2 separate regions of the Homo sapiens genome follow, and region 2 is linked to region 1. Evidence: promoter capture Hi-C in 16 types of primary human blood cells and fetal thymus (Javierre and others, 2016). All regions are on one chromosome and are shown on one strand. Each heading gives the region's core, a stretch centred on a gene start or on the middle of the fragment in contact. The rest is flanking DNA. Distances are from core to core; before and after follow the strand shown.

Region 1 (7,602 bases), core at 2,029-4,528:
GTTTCATTTTTTAAATAACATTCAAATAATGAAATAAAAGGAACTGAAGACACAGCATACTTAAAAAAAACCCTTAATTTTCCTTGGCATTTATTTTAAAATGTCTGCGGGAGAGAAAAGCAAGCAGACAAAAACAGTTTATAGTTACTTTTCAAGATCATCTAGCTAGTGAGAGTAAAACAAAGAAATTGAATAGGAATCTTATTTTTCTTCAAACGTTAGGTCAAGACTTTGACAATGTATCTTCACAAGTATTCTGAAACTCCTCCCACAACATACTAACCTTGACATAGAGGGGAAGGTAAGTATGCAGAGTCAAGATTCGATGTATAAAGAGAATGTTCTGGCCAGGCATGGTGGCTGAAGCCTGTAATCCCAGCACTTCAGGAGGCCAAGGCTAGGCGAATCACTTGAGGTGAGGAGTTCGAGACCAGCCTGGGCAACATGGCCAAACCCTGTCTCTACTAAAAATACAAAAATTAGCTGGGCATGGTGGTGCACAACTGTAATCCCAGCTACTTGGGAGGCTGAGGCATGCTAATTGCTTGAACCCGGGGAAGCGGAGGTTGCCGTGAGCTGAGATCGTGCCACTGCACTCCAGCCTGGGCAACAGAGTGAGACCCTGTTTCAAAAACCAAAACCATAAAGGGAATGTTCTAAGTTTTCATTATTTGATACAGCTATATTTAGCCTTTTCCAATAACTGGGATCCTGAAAAACGGCACATATTTTGCATTTGCCTGAATTAAGTTATACTTAAGGAGCTCAAAGGGGCAATGGAACTCCACATTGAAAATAATCTAAAGATAAATCCTTTGTTAAGGTGAATAACCAAAATAACCCTCCAGTAATTCGTAACTGTTTAGAACCTTAGTATTTGTGTGTGTGTTTGATAATGTTCAGCTATGGTTTCACTTTTGAAAGATGTATGTTAAATTTTATTTTATCATAGTAGTATTAGAGGCTTAGATTGCAAGATGTACTTTGATAAATATAAAACAAAAATTCTGGCTGCTTTAAAACACTCAGGCACTGGTTGTTGAAACAATGTATTCAGATTGACTAGTTTTCAGAATTCTTCTATGTTTGTTCATTATTCAATAAATATTTATCAAAAAGCTGTTCTGTAATATGCACTAAGTATATAATAGAGAGCAAAAACAGGTACAAAATAAGAGCAGCTAATACCTACTGAGCACTTATAACATATTGTGCCCTGTTTTAAGTGCTTTACATATATTACCTCATAGCATCCTCTCAAAAACTCTAAGAAGTAGAAGTGTTATCATCTCCATTTTGCAGTCAATAAAATGGAGGCACAGAGAGGTTAGGTAATTTGTCCAGTGTTTCATAGCTAGTACATGATGAGTTGGGATGTGAATCTGGGCAGCATGATTCCAGAGTCTGCACTCTTAACTGCTGGGATGTACTAACTCTCCTACATTTTAACAGCTTTCCTTGTAGTATACAGTATAATGAATGAGATGCTTATTGAATAAATCATTCAAGCAAATGAAAAATTTTAACTCTGATGAATGCCACGAAGGGGAGTGTGGCAGAAACCAGAGAGCTGTTACCAAAATATGTCTCTTTTCCTTCTGGATACACAGACTACATTCCTAGCCTCCCTTGCAGTCATGTGACCAAGTTCTGGCCAGTGGAATGTGGACAAAAGGGAGGTACACACTTCCAGGTCTGGACCATAAAACATATGTATACCAATATGCCAAGTTCTTATTCTTTTAATCGACCTAAGGCAGAGAGTGTGGCCTGAAGACACAAAGGAACAGCTGTCAGAATTGAGAACTTCTCAAACATTTACTTAGGCTTAATAGAAACTTATGCATATGAAAATGCCCATAGCAGAAGGAACATTGGGTAAATCATTTAAGTTTGAAGAGAAGGAAATTTTAGACACCGTTTAGTCTGTAACCTGAATTTATCTTGGCTGCGTTATGGCCAGTCTCCATATAGTATGGTATTCAGAAACAGGTCTTATATCCAAATAAGAAATGCAAAGTAATTTACATTTTTAGGGAAGATTTTTAAAGAGGCAACAAAGGGAGACGTATACCCCAAGAAGGTTTAACAATCCTTTCAATCATTTAATTCCTCTAAGTCTCTCTCATCATTACATATTTCTTGTCTCCCTTCTTGTTTGTCCCTCTCTCCTGCAACTCTGTGTAGTAGGACTCTGTTTTCCCCTAACTCAGCTTTTTATTATGTATTTATCAATTTATTATGTATAGATCAATTCAGTTCTTCAGTACCTTACAGCTCTTCTCTCTCTTACTCTAATCTGCACAACTGAGCCCCAGGAGGGACTTGACAAACCATGAGAAAGTCTTTAGAAGTATGGGAAATCGTGTTGGGGAAGGGAGGAAGAATATGAACGCTATGTATATTTACATGTTTTGGTTACATGTCCAGACAACCAATTTGCAAATGAATAAAGTGACGCCTAAATAAATTAGGTGATTTGACACTCTTGAGTCATACGGAGTTGGGCCTAGAACTCAGTGTTACTTCATTTGAAATAACCCTTATTATGGTTCCCTAGCAGGCCATCCTATAGCCTGCCATATATGGTCGTTTTGCACCCCTAGACGACAGAACGCTAGGGAGAGTAAGGAAGGCTGAGTTTTTGCTTCTACTAGGTTCGATGACCTTGGGCAGGTTGTCCTCTCTAAGGCTCTGTGTTTTTCTTCATAAGAAGGGTTAGACAAGATGAACTTTTGGGTCATGTCCAGCACTAAAATTCCTTGCTTCTGATCTGTCCCGGGCCCTGCGGCTGTGGCAGTGGTGGTATCGAGCTAGTCAAGAAGCTTCGCCCCTATTTGTCCCCCACCCTATTGGGGGAGAGGGAGAACCTCTCCCTCTTGGTTGCTTCTTTAGTGTCCTTGTAGGACCCACGTGGTGGTCATCTCCCGTCACGGGGGTCCAGTCTTGGCTCTGCGGGCTTCCCAGGGGCCACATAGGGAGAGGATCCTTCATGCATCAGAGTATCGCAGGCCAGAGTCTATGCCTTATCCCCACCTGTTTGGAACCAGCTTCCAAACCGTGGTCCCCAGCCTTCAGCAGGCCTACCGCGCAGGCGCAACCACCAGCCTGGCGCGAGGCGGACAAACGCCGAGGCCGAGGCAAGGTGAGAGGGCGGGGCTGGCAAGACCCCGCCTCCGTGGCGTCACGTGGGAGGCGGAGTCGGAAGTGTGACGGCGTGCGCGGGGCGGGGCTACTGCTGCGCGCGGGCGCGGGGGCGGGGCGGGGCGCGGCGCGGCGCGGCGCTCGCGGCTGCTGCCTGGGAGGGAGGCCGGGCAGGCGGCTGAGCGGCGCGGCTCTCAACGTGACGGGGAAGTGGTTCGGGCGGCCGCGGCTTACTACCCCAGGGCGAACGGACGGACGACGGAGGCGGGAGCCGGTAGCCGAGCCGGGCGACCTAGAGAACGAGCGGGTCAGGCTCAGCGTCGGCCACTCTGTCGGTCCGCTGAATGAAGTGCCCGCCCCTCTAAGCCCGGAGCCCGGCGCTTTCCCCGCAAGATGGACGGTTTCGCCGGCAGTCTCGGTGAGTACGGCTGGGGAGTCCTGCGTCTTCTGCGAAGGGTAGGAACTTTTTTCCTTCCGCACACAGCCCAGGCCCTGCCCTCCCGCCTGCCCCTCGGGGTGGCAGCGGCTCCACTGCACATGTTCCCTTCGAGGCTGCCGCCCCTCCGCGGACTCCGGTGGACTGAGGGCCCCTCCCCCATGTCCAACTCTCCTCTGTGTCAGACCCTCCTTTCCTCCCGGAGCCCCTTTCAGTGCGGGGCCCTCGTTCCCCCAAAGTGGGAACCCCTTCCTTCTCAGGCCCCCCGATAGCTGGCACACCCCTCCCCGTACACTCACGGCTCCCTCCACTTACCCCCCTTCAGAGTTGGGACATTTCTTCAAATCCAGGCTCCTCTTCAGGGTACAACCTTCCACCACCTTTCCACATACACGCCTCTCTTTCAGGGTGGGGATCGCCTTCACCCGAACAGAGGCTCCTTTTTAGGGGAGGGACCCTCATTCCCTCTTCAGGAAGGGGGCATCCCCCGCCCCCAAGTCTTCACTTTAGATTTGAAGGCGACTTTCCAGTATCCTTCAGAGTAGTAGGCAACTTCCTTTTCAATCCCTCCACTTCTCTGAGCATTTTGCAGTGGTGGAGAGACCTAGAAGCATCGGAGCATCATTTGCTTAATGCAGGAAAGGAAGAGGTGCATCTGTGTTGGGGGACCCTCTTTAAGAGTGAAAGCAGAAGTGTTTTCTGGTTCTGCATACATGCTGGGGAGAAGTGATTCTGCCCAATGAATCAATAGGAAAGGGGGCCTCTATCAGGGAAGGAAAGGATTCTCCATTTTTGGAAGATGTTGTCTTTGTGGAATGGAGAAAGGGAAGAGGTTATTAAATAGGCTGAAGTGCCTTTTCAGTGTTCCTTTCACCAGATGAAGGTAATCTTCTGGCTAGGAAAATCAAAACTCCAGGCTAGTATTCGCTGCCCTAGAAGCTGAATCTGGAATTACTATTCTTCGAGGCCATTGAAATCTAGTAAAAGATTAAGTTCAACTGTTAGAATGGTGAGAGAAACAGTTTCAGCTTTGGCTGATAACGCAGTTGTGTGATACCTACTGCTGGAACTGTATTTTGAGTTTTTTATGTGCAGGTAGCTTGTATTCAGACGCCTTTCTTTTACATTTCTTGATAATAAGTCTCTACTTGGTTAATGTTCACTGATCAGTGAGCAGTCTGGCCATAGGCCGTACTATATCCAGATAATATCGAGATGAGATGGATTTTTAAAATCTAAAGTAAAAAAGTAAGTCAAAGAGCAATGGGCCTATTATAGATATTAAATAGTAAAACCTATAATTTTGGCCTTCCCTTTTTCTTGGGCAGAAAAAATTGTCGTTATATTGCTTTCAGAGTGGAAATCCTAAAATAGGAGGCAACTGAGTGTTGTGTTACTCTTTCCTCCTCAAAGGCACCTGTTGTCCATTATCTAACCTTTGATGTCTTGTAATTCCTTACTTAGGTTGGGCTCTTTTTAGAGAGACATCCATTTTTCCCTGGTTCTTTTTTAGCTCCATGCGTTGGTTTATTCACAGTAAGTGTTGGACCGAAAAACTTGTCCTATATGTCCGCTGAAGGGCTGATCTTATACTAAAGTAAAAATTGAGTGTCTTCTTAGGGGATGTTGTGGAGAGCTGTGCTATCTTTATACTGTATTGGGTCCTCATCCTGTAGGAGTGGTGAGATCACTTTAACTTCTTTCGTGTTGGCTCTAAAGATTTCTGGAGGGCTTGTTAAAGCTTCATCTTCTGTAAGTGTTTAGGAGGAGTCTTTCTCACCAGTTGGGGCACTTAATGTTTATTTTCAAACATTGATTATGCTTTGTAATAGCTTTCTTCTTTCTTAACCAGTTTATGAGGCAAGTGATACAAAAGACCGAGAGATGAAGATGAATTGCAGTTGGGGCTCACACTTTTCATAAAGAGCGTCATTGTTGACCCTAATGTTGGATTTAAAAAATTCATTTGATGCCATGCTTTGGGTGGTATGTGATGAGACTTTCCTTTAGATATGGTGTTAATCAGGAGCAGAGGAGATATGCCTATCAGAGGAACCTGCATCTGCAGAGAGGGAAGGAAATGGTTCCTGGCAGTATTTCTGGAGCTGTTCTTGATGAAGATACTTCTCAGTGGGAGCTCTGTGCTTTCTCTTTCTGTCCCCCTTGCAAGAGTAAAACTAGGCCCCATCTTAATTGAAACCTTAAAGGGGTGGGGGAGGAGTAGTGCTGGTATATTTTACTGGTAGTCTTTAAGCGGAGCTTTGCTCAGCTCTTGCCAAATTGCTTGTTTCTGTTCTCTGCAGTTAATTAGCCTAGAGCTTAGAGTTACATTGATCTTTATTTTACCATCAGGAGAGCCATGAATATAAAGGCAAGCACTTCTACTCTAGTAGGTGTTTAAAAACTTTTTTTTTTTTTAAACAAGAAGTCAAAACGTGAAGTTCTTCTGGGGTTACAACTATTGAAAGCATTTATTCTCAAGGAAGTATGTGTGTATTTCCTTTTACATATTAGATAGATTCTTGAAAAATGGTGAAAAAACTACATTTTTATAAGCAGAAAAATTGAGTACTTTATAAACAGAATAATTTTAGAGAAGAGATTATTTCAGAGAATCCTATGGTGACTCATTTTGTGAAGTGAAAACTTAAAATTCAAACTGTACCCTTGATTGTTGCATGTTTAGATAAGAAATCCACTGTGTTATGTGCATTTTATAAGATGTCTAATGGCAATTAAGACTAGGTAGTGGTTTTTTAAATCATAGGAATGATAAGTGATTGGCCATTTTATAAATGCCACATTGAAGTTACATGGTACTGATTATGTTATCTTTGTTTTACATAAAAAACAAGTGAAGAATTCTTTTAATCTCCGCAGCTGATGAATTTCAGGCAACTTGGCTGGCAGGTGCTTGTACTCTGGAATTTCCCTTAGGTATTATTAATATATCTTTTAATCCACAAATTATGGTAACTTAAGGCAGCACTTTAGAAACCTTTTTTTTTTTAAACTTAGGAGAGAAAAGTACTCAATTACCTTGATGTGTTGCCTCTAAATCACTACATATAGATACCCATGTGCAAAATGTATATACTGTATGTATATTAAATCTCAGGTCTATGTGCAAAAGTGGGAAGCTATTCATACAGCTTTTACCGATTTTTTATAAGGCAGGGATTGGGTGCATTTCATGCTTAATCTTTTTAGAATCTCTTTCATAATAGAGGTTTAATTTTAAGACTTTTATCTTGGAATTAACCTAGAGATTAGTCTGTTTTCACTTGAAAGAAACCTTATACCTAACCAGTCAGCTTTAAATTTTTCTGCCTCAAAAGTTAAACAACAAAACTTAAAATCTTCTTCCCCCTAAGAAAAATCATAGTGAATGAAATTGTTGGATTAGGATCTATAAGAAACAACATTCTGGGTACAGGTTGTAAATGTGAACAAGTATAGCAGTATGCTTCAACTTATGGACTATTCAGAAATTAGTCTTTTTAACATCACATTGTTAGAACTGTGATTTCTCATCACAGATAATAGTCTTGCTTTCTTAAAGGAACAATGCTGTATATGATTTTCACATATTAATCTAAAGCATTCCTTATTTACATGAAAATGTTTTTCATGTAATATTTGGAGAGGTTTTTTTTTTAAACTTTTTTTATTGGTTGCCTCTTGAAGAGTTCAAGATAGACTCAAGTTGTGTAACCAGACATGAGTAGTAACTCTTAAATGGTTAGTAGAGCATCTTCAACATGAGTTAGCTAGAGTGTTTTTCAACATATGTATGGATTAACATCGAACATGGGCTAGCACTATGCTTGGTGGTTCTTATGGGAAAGACAAGTAAAAGACATGCTTTTTGCCCTTTAGGAGCTTACTGCCTGGTTTTTAAATAAGTACCATGACTAGGTGCAGTGGCTCACGCCTGTAGTCCCAGCACTTTGGGAGGCTGAGGTGGAAGGATCGATTGAGCCCAGTAGTTTGAGACCAGCCTGGGCAACATAGCAAGACCC
Region 2 (7,602 bases), core at 2,484-4,983, 1.7 Mb before region 1:
TACATAAATACATATTTTTTACAAAAATAACTACATTTGCCAAAATAAAGCTCTTTAGTTGCTGAAGGATCTCAAAATCACACTTTTGAGAACTTCCATCTTAGAATGACTGGCTAGGAAAAAAAATGAAATAAACCCTAGGGCATTCTCTTAGATCATTACCTAAGCCCTAGATTCTCCTATTTTCAGTACTATTTTCCCCCAAAAAACATAACTTTCTATGATGCATCACATCATAGAAAAGGATTTTGGGAGAATTTGTCTCCTCTGAGTAGTTTTCTGTTCAAAAGATAATAACCTTAACAAATTCCCAAACTCATTTTTTTCTTTGAGAGGTATTGTTTTGGCACAAAGCATGAAAATAAATAAATGATGACAAATAGCATCATTTTTCAATTCGATTAAAGCATTTTGAGGTTAGTTGTGGAACTTCTTGATTTTTCTATGCAAGTGTAAAAGTCTATTACAGAACTGTGACTCTTTTCTATTCATATATTCCTCATATTATCTAATTTGCAACAACCAATTTTCACTTGTCTTTCTCAAAGGGGAGCCTATAGAAACTCTGGACCCAAGGACTAAAGCAATGCTGTTTCAGTTTCCCAGGGATGCCTCGGACCTTTATCCCTTCTTCATACCTGCTGGATATCAGGCATTCTTGATACCTGCTGGAGGCAATTCATTCATTTAGGGAGAGAGAAATAAAGTCTTAGCCTTCAGCTGGGAAAGACTGAAAATAAACAAAGATATATTTCTAATGTTAGATACTAATAAAGCATATAAAAAAGAAAAGCAAGCTTTGGGGAAATAGAATGACTGAGAGGATGTTTAGGTAAGGTGCTTAGTGAAGGCGTCATTGAGCAGATCACATTTGACCAGAGACCTTAATAAAGTAAGGGAGAGTCCATTATGGGACAAGATTAGTCTGGGCAGAGGTCATGGAAAATAGTAATTTCCTGAGGTCAGAAGAAACTTGACCTATTTGCTTTAGAGGAAATAGTGGGAGCAAGTGTGGTTAGTGCCAAATACATGGTAGAGATTTAGAAGTAAAGGAGGGTGGCATAGCTCAGGGATAGATCATATAGGGCCTTGAACACCATAGGAAGTCATTCCAATTTTATGAGAGTGCAAAAAGCCATTGGCAGAGTATCTAGGAGGAGTGATCATCCTTTCAGATTTTTCTGATACAATCAACTTTCAATAGTGAGTCTTGTTCTTTCCTTTATTTATGGCATCAAATTTAATGCCTACTGCATATTTTTGAAGCAGTGAGTGAATCAGTAAATCAATGAATAAGAGTTATTGGATTTTCTCTAATTTTTTTTGGGAGGATGTTCTGGAAAATACAGGAATTATTGTTTTGTGGGTGCATTTTTCCTATAGCAAACATAATACTGTCCACGACAATGTCATGCATTATTTGTCAAGTTAAATGTTTAAAAACATTTAATACTATTTTCTGAAAACAGAAACAGAAAGTCCATTAAATAATAAATTTCCTGGGCAACGTGATCTTTTTCAGTTTATTTTTAGTAGTCTGAACTACCATGGTATCTGATATCTGAAGAAAACACTGTTTCTCTTACAAGAGAGAAAACCTTGTGTTGTAGTCATGGATTGAGAGCTGAAGTGTTGCAGCTCCCTATTTCTAGAACCTTCTGAACACATGTGAGTAAATCAGTTCAATCCTATGTGCTTCTGGTTATTTGTCTGTAAAATGATCCACCTACTCCTTCTCCCAGCCCCCTCCCTATTTCTTTGTCCTACACGGTTGAAAAGAAGATAATTTATTGTCACTTAAACAATGTCTTAGATACGAACCCTCAACTTTTCAAGCACCACCCAAATGCCAAAGACTCTTGATGTTTTGCGGAAGGAAGACAATCAGAGGTTTGGCTTAGAAAGTTTTCCTTCCTCTGGCTGAAGATGAACTTCACAGCATTTTTCTCCACTTTGTACACGTAAGCCACATGAGTAATTTTCCTTTAAGTTGAACTACTGAATTTAAATAAAGATGAGTGTGTTTTTGTGTGAGTTATATGAGTGTGTGTGCCTGTGCGTAGTGTGTATGTGTGTGTGCACGTGTGTGTAGGGGGAGATTTGACCAACATGGGGAATGAATGCAAAGACATTGAATAACCAAGTTTCCAGCCACCTCTTAGTTAGCATAGCTTGATGTGGCTTACTTTCCAGAATAGTTGTGACTTGGTACTTTTTAGGAGCTATTTGGACTGAAGCTCAGGGAATAACCAGATGACCATAATGTATCAAGAACTTCTCAGAAAAAGGTACTGTATAAATAAATGGCACTTTTATTATTCTAGTCTGCCTCCTTTGGCTATAGGTTTTGACATCAAACTGTGAAAGTCAGTAATACAGTTTCTGAAGAGCTGTTTTACTTTCTTTTTTTCTTTTTCTTCCTGTTCTCTAATATCTCTATTCTGTTTTCTGAAAATACTCAGCTATGCCTTGGCTGGGGATGATAAAACCCTTGTTCACCCAGTTTTCCTGATTGATATCTCCACACAAGCTGATACACCCACCCGCCCTCACACACAATCAGAGTCCATTACCATTTTTCTGAAAAACCAAACAAGTTACTTGTTTAAGGCAGTTCTACCTGTCATGGTGAGACAACTGTTATTTGAGCCTTAATTAGCAGAGTATTGGGCTGAACCATGTGTCTTTTGTGTCCTGTTTGCAGGTTAAACTCAATATGACCTTTACAGATCTAAAGGTCCTAACAAATTGCAATATGCAATCATTTTTGTATCTACAAACCCAAATATTTAAAAAATAACTATTTAAAGCAACATGAGTTAGCTAGTCAAATGTGCTGTCCATTTAAAAGTCTATGATTTTCTTTGGTAAAAAGCTCAGGTAGTTTTTTCACTGAGTTTTTTTCAGTAAAATATTCTATAAATATGAGTGTATTTCTCTCTCCCTTCTGAAAAATCAATATCTGATGAGTTCCAAAATCTCTCATAGACCTAAGTTTTTAATTTGACTTTTATACTTTGATAGACTTTCTGAAGGAAATTTATATCAATTTCCCTGGATGTTACATTTCATTTTCAACCACCTAATTTGTTTGTTTTTTTTTTTTTTTAGACAGAGTTTCGCTCTTGTTGCCCAGGCTGGAGTGCAATGGCGCAGTCCCAGCTCACTGCAACCTCCGCCTCCTGGGTTCAAGCAATTCTCATGCCTCAGCCTCCCAAGTAGCTAGGATTATAGGCGCCCGCCACCACGCCCAGCTAATTTTTGTATTTTTAGTAGAGACGGGGTTTCACCATGTTGGCCAGGATAGTCTCAAACTCCTGATCGCAGGTGATCCGCCTGCCTCGACCTCCCAAAGTGCTGGGATTACAGGCGTGAGCCACCACGCCCGGCCTCAACCACCTAATTTTAAACTTCAGGAGAACGTATAAATTTCACCAATTCACACCATTAATTCAGAATGTACAAAGATTTAGACATGTGACTGTTGTCGAATAAACAGTTAACATATTTTTGACTGAATGTTGGAGCTTTTTGGTGGAAATTCAATTTTAAATTAGTATCTTTTTCAAATAAATATTTAAGAGCTGTCAAAATTTGTATCTTTTGTATGTAACTTCAACTTCTAAATTTAAAATTACTGTCTTTGTCTAATTATTTTATATTTTAGCATAGTCACAGTTAATTAATTGTTCTACTAGAGCTTGAACCCACATTCTTCATTTGCAGTTCATTTTCTGATCATGCATTTTCTCTGGTTTGGGCAAAAAATAAACATTTTTTTAAGCTCATAACAATTTATATCTTGGTCATCTGGTTGGATATTACTTTCTCTCTCAAGATATTCTCATTTGGACATAATAGTAGTAGGTATTTATATATTCTATAGATGAGGAAACACAGAAGTTTCTTATCTTGATTAGAAAGAGAAAATATTTCAGGGGTGGTAAGTGAGCTTTTCATGCTCCTATCTGTTAAAATACCGGTTTTATCTCTAACTGGGGAAGGTAAGTACCAAAGTATTGACAATGAGTGTTTCCATCTCAGCTTCGGCAACAAGGTACTTTGGCATCTTAACATTCCTGGATTTGTGAAAAACAATTAAAAAACCATTAATATTGGGAGAAAAATATAAGCCCAGTTAGTATCCCTTGCATTGTTTGTCCCTTCATAGTGATCCACTTACTAGCTGTGCAGTTGCCTACCCTCAGCTCCCATTCCATGGGCCAGTAATTAATGTACCAGGGTAATTTCTTCCTGACGCCACAGTCTGTTGATATAGTTATGAAAACTAACTGAGGACCTATGATAAGGTTTCCACAGTGACTTGATTTTACTGCAGGATGGGACTAACACAGGTCAAGAAAAAACTGTAAAACTGGAAACAGTGCACGTTTATTGTTTTTTTTTAAAAATTAGATACTGATTTTTTCTGGTGCCAGTAGAGAGGCCAGAAACATTTAATCTTCAGAACTAAACCCCAAAACCTCATGAAACATTGAAAGAGGAAGGCAAAAGTTGCTCTCTTCCCCAAATGTGAACTACTTATTGCATCAAAGATTAAGCTGTCTACTATGGTCTGAATATTTGTTCCCTCTAAAATTCATATGTTGAAATCTTAACCCCCATGGTGATGTATGAGGAGGTGTGACTTTGGGAGATCATGAGGGCTCTGTCTTCATTAAAGGGATTAGTGTCCTTATGAAAAAAAGTCCCAGAGAGACTCTCACCCCTTGCATCATGTGTGGACACAGAAAGAAGGCACCCTCTACAAACCAGAAAGCAGGTTCTCATCAGATACGGAGTTTGCTGGCATTTTGATATTGGATTTCCAGCCTTTAGAACTGTGAGGAATAAGTTTTGATTGTTGATAAGGCAGCCAGTTTATGGGATTTTTGTTATAACATCTTAAATGGACTAAGACACTGCCCTAACTTTGCTTAGATTAAGGAGGTTGAGTGTATCAGCTGAATCCTGACCAAAATTTCTTGTTGGAGTGGAAAGGACTCAAGGACATAATTTAACAAGTTGTGCTGGGCATGTCAAGTGCTCTAGAAATTTCATGAGTCTCCTCCCAGTCCACATATTGTCGAGAATGAATGAGCTCACTAATCTGCTACAAGATGAAGACCACGACGTTATACAGGCTAATTCTGAGTCACTGCATCAGTTGAGACCAGCAGCCACTGACTTACAAACACAACCCAACTTATTTTTTGAAGAGATTCGTAGTAGCCAAAAATCGCACTGCTGTTTAAACACAAATACTTAAGAATATAAAAGATCATAACCACAACCTTTTAATTATAATGATATCCTTTAATGTGGGAGAAGAAGAGAGGAGTATATTATTTGACCTTAGATGTAACTGTATGGAAAAACAGGGCATCAGTCGCAAAGTCATTTTACAAAAGAAAGCATATTTTCTTGTGTGTGTTTATGTGTAAGAGTGTGTGTGTGTATGTTTGTGCATCCATGTGCACACTTGCTCATACACCATAGTATTTTAAAGAACATAGTTTACCATAGGGAGGAATGGATATAAAAAAGGTGATTAATTAGTTCTGTGGCATATCTTACTATAGCTTTCTAAGGTTCACGCTTTTTATATCACCTCACACACAAATTAATGCCATATTTATTTGAAAGCAGCACAGTGTTAAAGAAGACAAAAGAGACATTGAATTCAGCCATACCTGGCTTTAAATTCCTGTCACATGTTAGCTGTGTGATTTTATGCAAAATTATTTAGTCTGCTTGATCTTTAGTTTTCTTGTTTATAAAAATAAGAGTGTCACTTTTCTTACAGAACTGTTGTAAGAATGCAACCAGATTTTTTAGCTTCTAGTAGGATGTCTGATAACTGTTAGATCCTTCTTCTTTCTCTGTAAGAACCATAGTTCGATCTGGCTAATACAGTCTTATACTGAATAGAATTATCATAATCTCTACCACTAGGCTTGTGAGTAGGGGGAGAAAGTGGAATCATAATTTTTTATTCCTGAAAATACACCAACGGAAAAGTAATGATTTCTAAGTCTTAACTCTTTCAGACAAGCTGTTTTTACATGCTGAAAAGTGAGATGCCAGTTCTTCATGTCTCCATCGTTTCTGTCTCTTTAACAGTTCAGAACATTCCTTTCCCTGGACAAATTCTGCAAAATGAAGTTAGGTTTCCAATTCTTCTATACCCTTTTAGTTGGTAATTTTTGAGTCAGGATTATATAGATCAAAATTTGAATTTCAGAGATGGAAGAGATATTAGAGAATAGTTCAAGTTTTAAGGCACATTACAATCATTTGAGAGGCTTGATAAAAACAGAGATTTGTAGAACCTGTCCCAAAAGATTCTCTTTCTGGAGGTAAAGGTCCCAAGCTCCTGCATTTTTTTAAAATACATATTTTATTGTGGTAAGAATGCTTAATATGAAATTGATCCTCTTAACAAACTTTTAAGCGTGCAATAAGATATTGTTGACTATAGCTACACCAAGTTTCTACATTTTAAAAACGAATGTCCCAGATGTCTTTGGTTTAGTTGGGCCACTCTCTCCAGAGGGAGCACTACTGCCTTAAAGTCTTTCTAATTAACTTTTCACACATTGCAGGGTCATTTATAGCCTCTGACTCAGTGCAGAACTGCCAGGGGAGGCTTTGGGTTTTGTAAGGGTTGAAGCTTATACAATATGGGGCCTACATTAAGAAAACAAAGTTTAAAAATCTTGTATTTGTAAATTTTGCCAAGCATATGGCCATGTGAATGTACTGCTAGGGCTTCTCTGAGGGCCTGAGAAGGAACTCATGTCTTTAGGGTCCCTGAAGCATAAGCTTCATATTATATGCACTGCTGAGTACCACCGATGACAATTCATCCCTGTTATTATTTCTATTTTATGGGATGAAGAAACGAAGGAATGGAGACTTTAAGCAACTTGCCTGTGGTCACACAGCTGGTAAGTGGCAGAGTGGGGATTTGAATCCAGACAGCCTGTCTCCAGTCTTTGCTCTTTGTGCCATGACAACGTAATGCCACTTATAGACACTTCCTGTTTTCTGAAACCCAGAGAGACAATGTTTTTCCTTATTTCTATGACAGAAGCCACAGTTAGCACTTTTTTTTTTTTTTTTTTTGAGACGGAATCTCGCTCTGTAGCCCAGGTTGGAGTGCAGTGGCGCGATCTCGGCTCACTGCAAGCTCCGCCTCCCGGGTTCACGCCATTCTCCCGCCTCAGCCTCCCGAGTAGCTGGGACTACAGGCGCCCGCCACCACGCCCGGCTTTTTTTTTTTTTTTTCTTTTTTGCATTTTTAGTAGAGACGGGGTTTCACCGTGTTAGCCAGGATGGTCTCAATCTCCTCACCTCGTGATCCGCCCGCCTCGGGCTCCCAAAGGGCTGGGATTACAGGCATAAGCCATCGTGCCCGGCCCACAGTTAGCACTCTTAATGAATGAACTAAAGTGCTGAAGACAATAAATAAAAATATACAATAATTAGCTGAACATTTATGTATTAGTTATTAAATTACCCTATGTATTTATGTATTTTATATTTTAAAATCTAAATTTAAAATTCACAATCACTGAAAATATATATGTTAAAAAATAT

What was found. Contacts are between HindIII fragments. The CHiCAGO score rates a contact against its expected background, and 5 or more counts as called.
Region 2: a fragment that was not itself captured here is called in contact with the fragment with the promoter of EML4 in region 1 in 1 of 17 cell types (M1 macrophages); the score reaches 5.2 in M1 macrophages.

What each region holds. Positions count from the first base shown.
Region 1 is chr2:42,166,075-42,173,676 of GRCh38, forward strand. It overlaps EML4 (EMAP like 4), which reads left to right and starts at 3,279. Exons shown (of 23, transcript NM_019063.5): 1 at 3,279-3,562. The coding sequence starts at 3,538. It overlaps EML4-AS1 (EML4 antisense RNA 1), which reads right to left and starts at 4,157. Exons shown (of 4, transcript NR_110584.1): 1 at 3,896-4,157. RefSeq lists enhancers at 2,861-3,000, 3,013-3,665 and silencers at 3,081-3,130, 3,231-3,290. The HindIII fragment of the contact is 2,496 bases long and covers 2,824-5,319 here.
Region 2 is chr2:40,475,681-40,483,282 of GRCh38, forward strand. It overlaps a transcript of SLC8A1 not described here. Among named protein-coding and RNA genes, the nearest start is that of SLC8A1, 27 kb to the left of the region's middle. The HindIII fragment of the contact is 5,876 bases long and covers 796-6,671 here.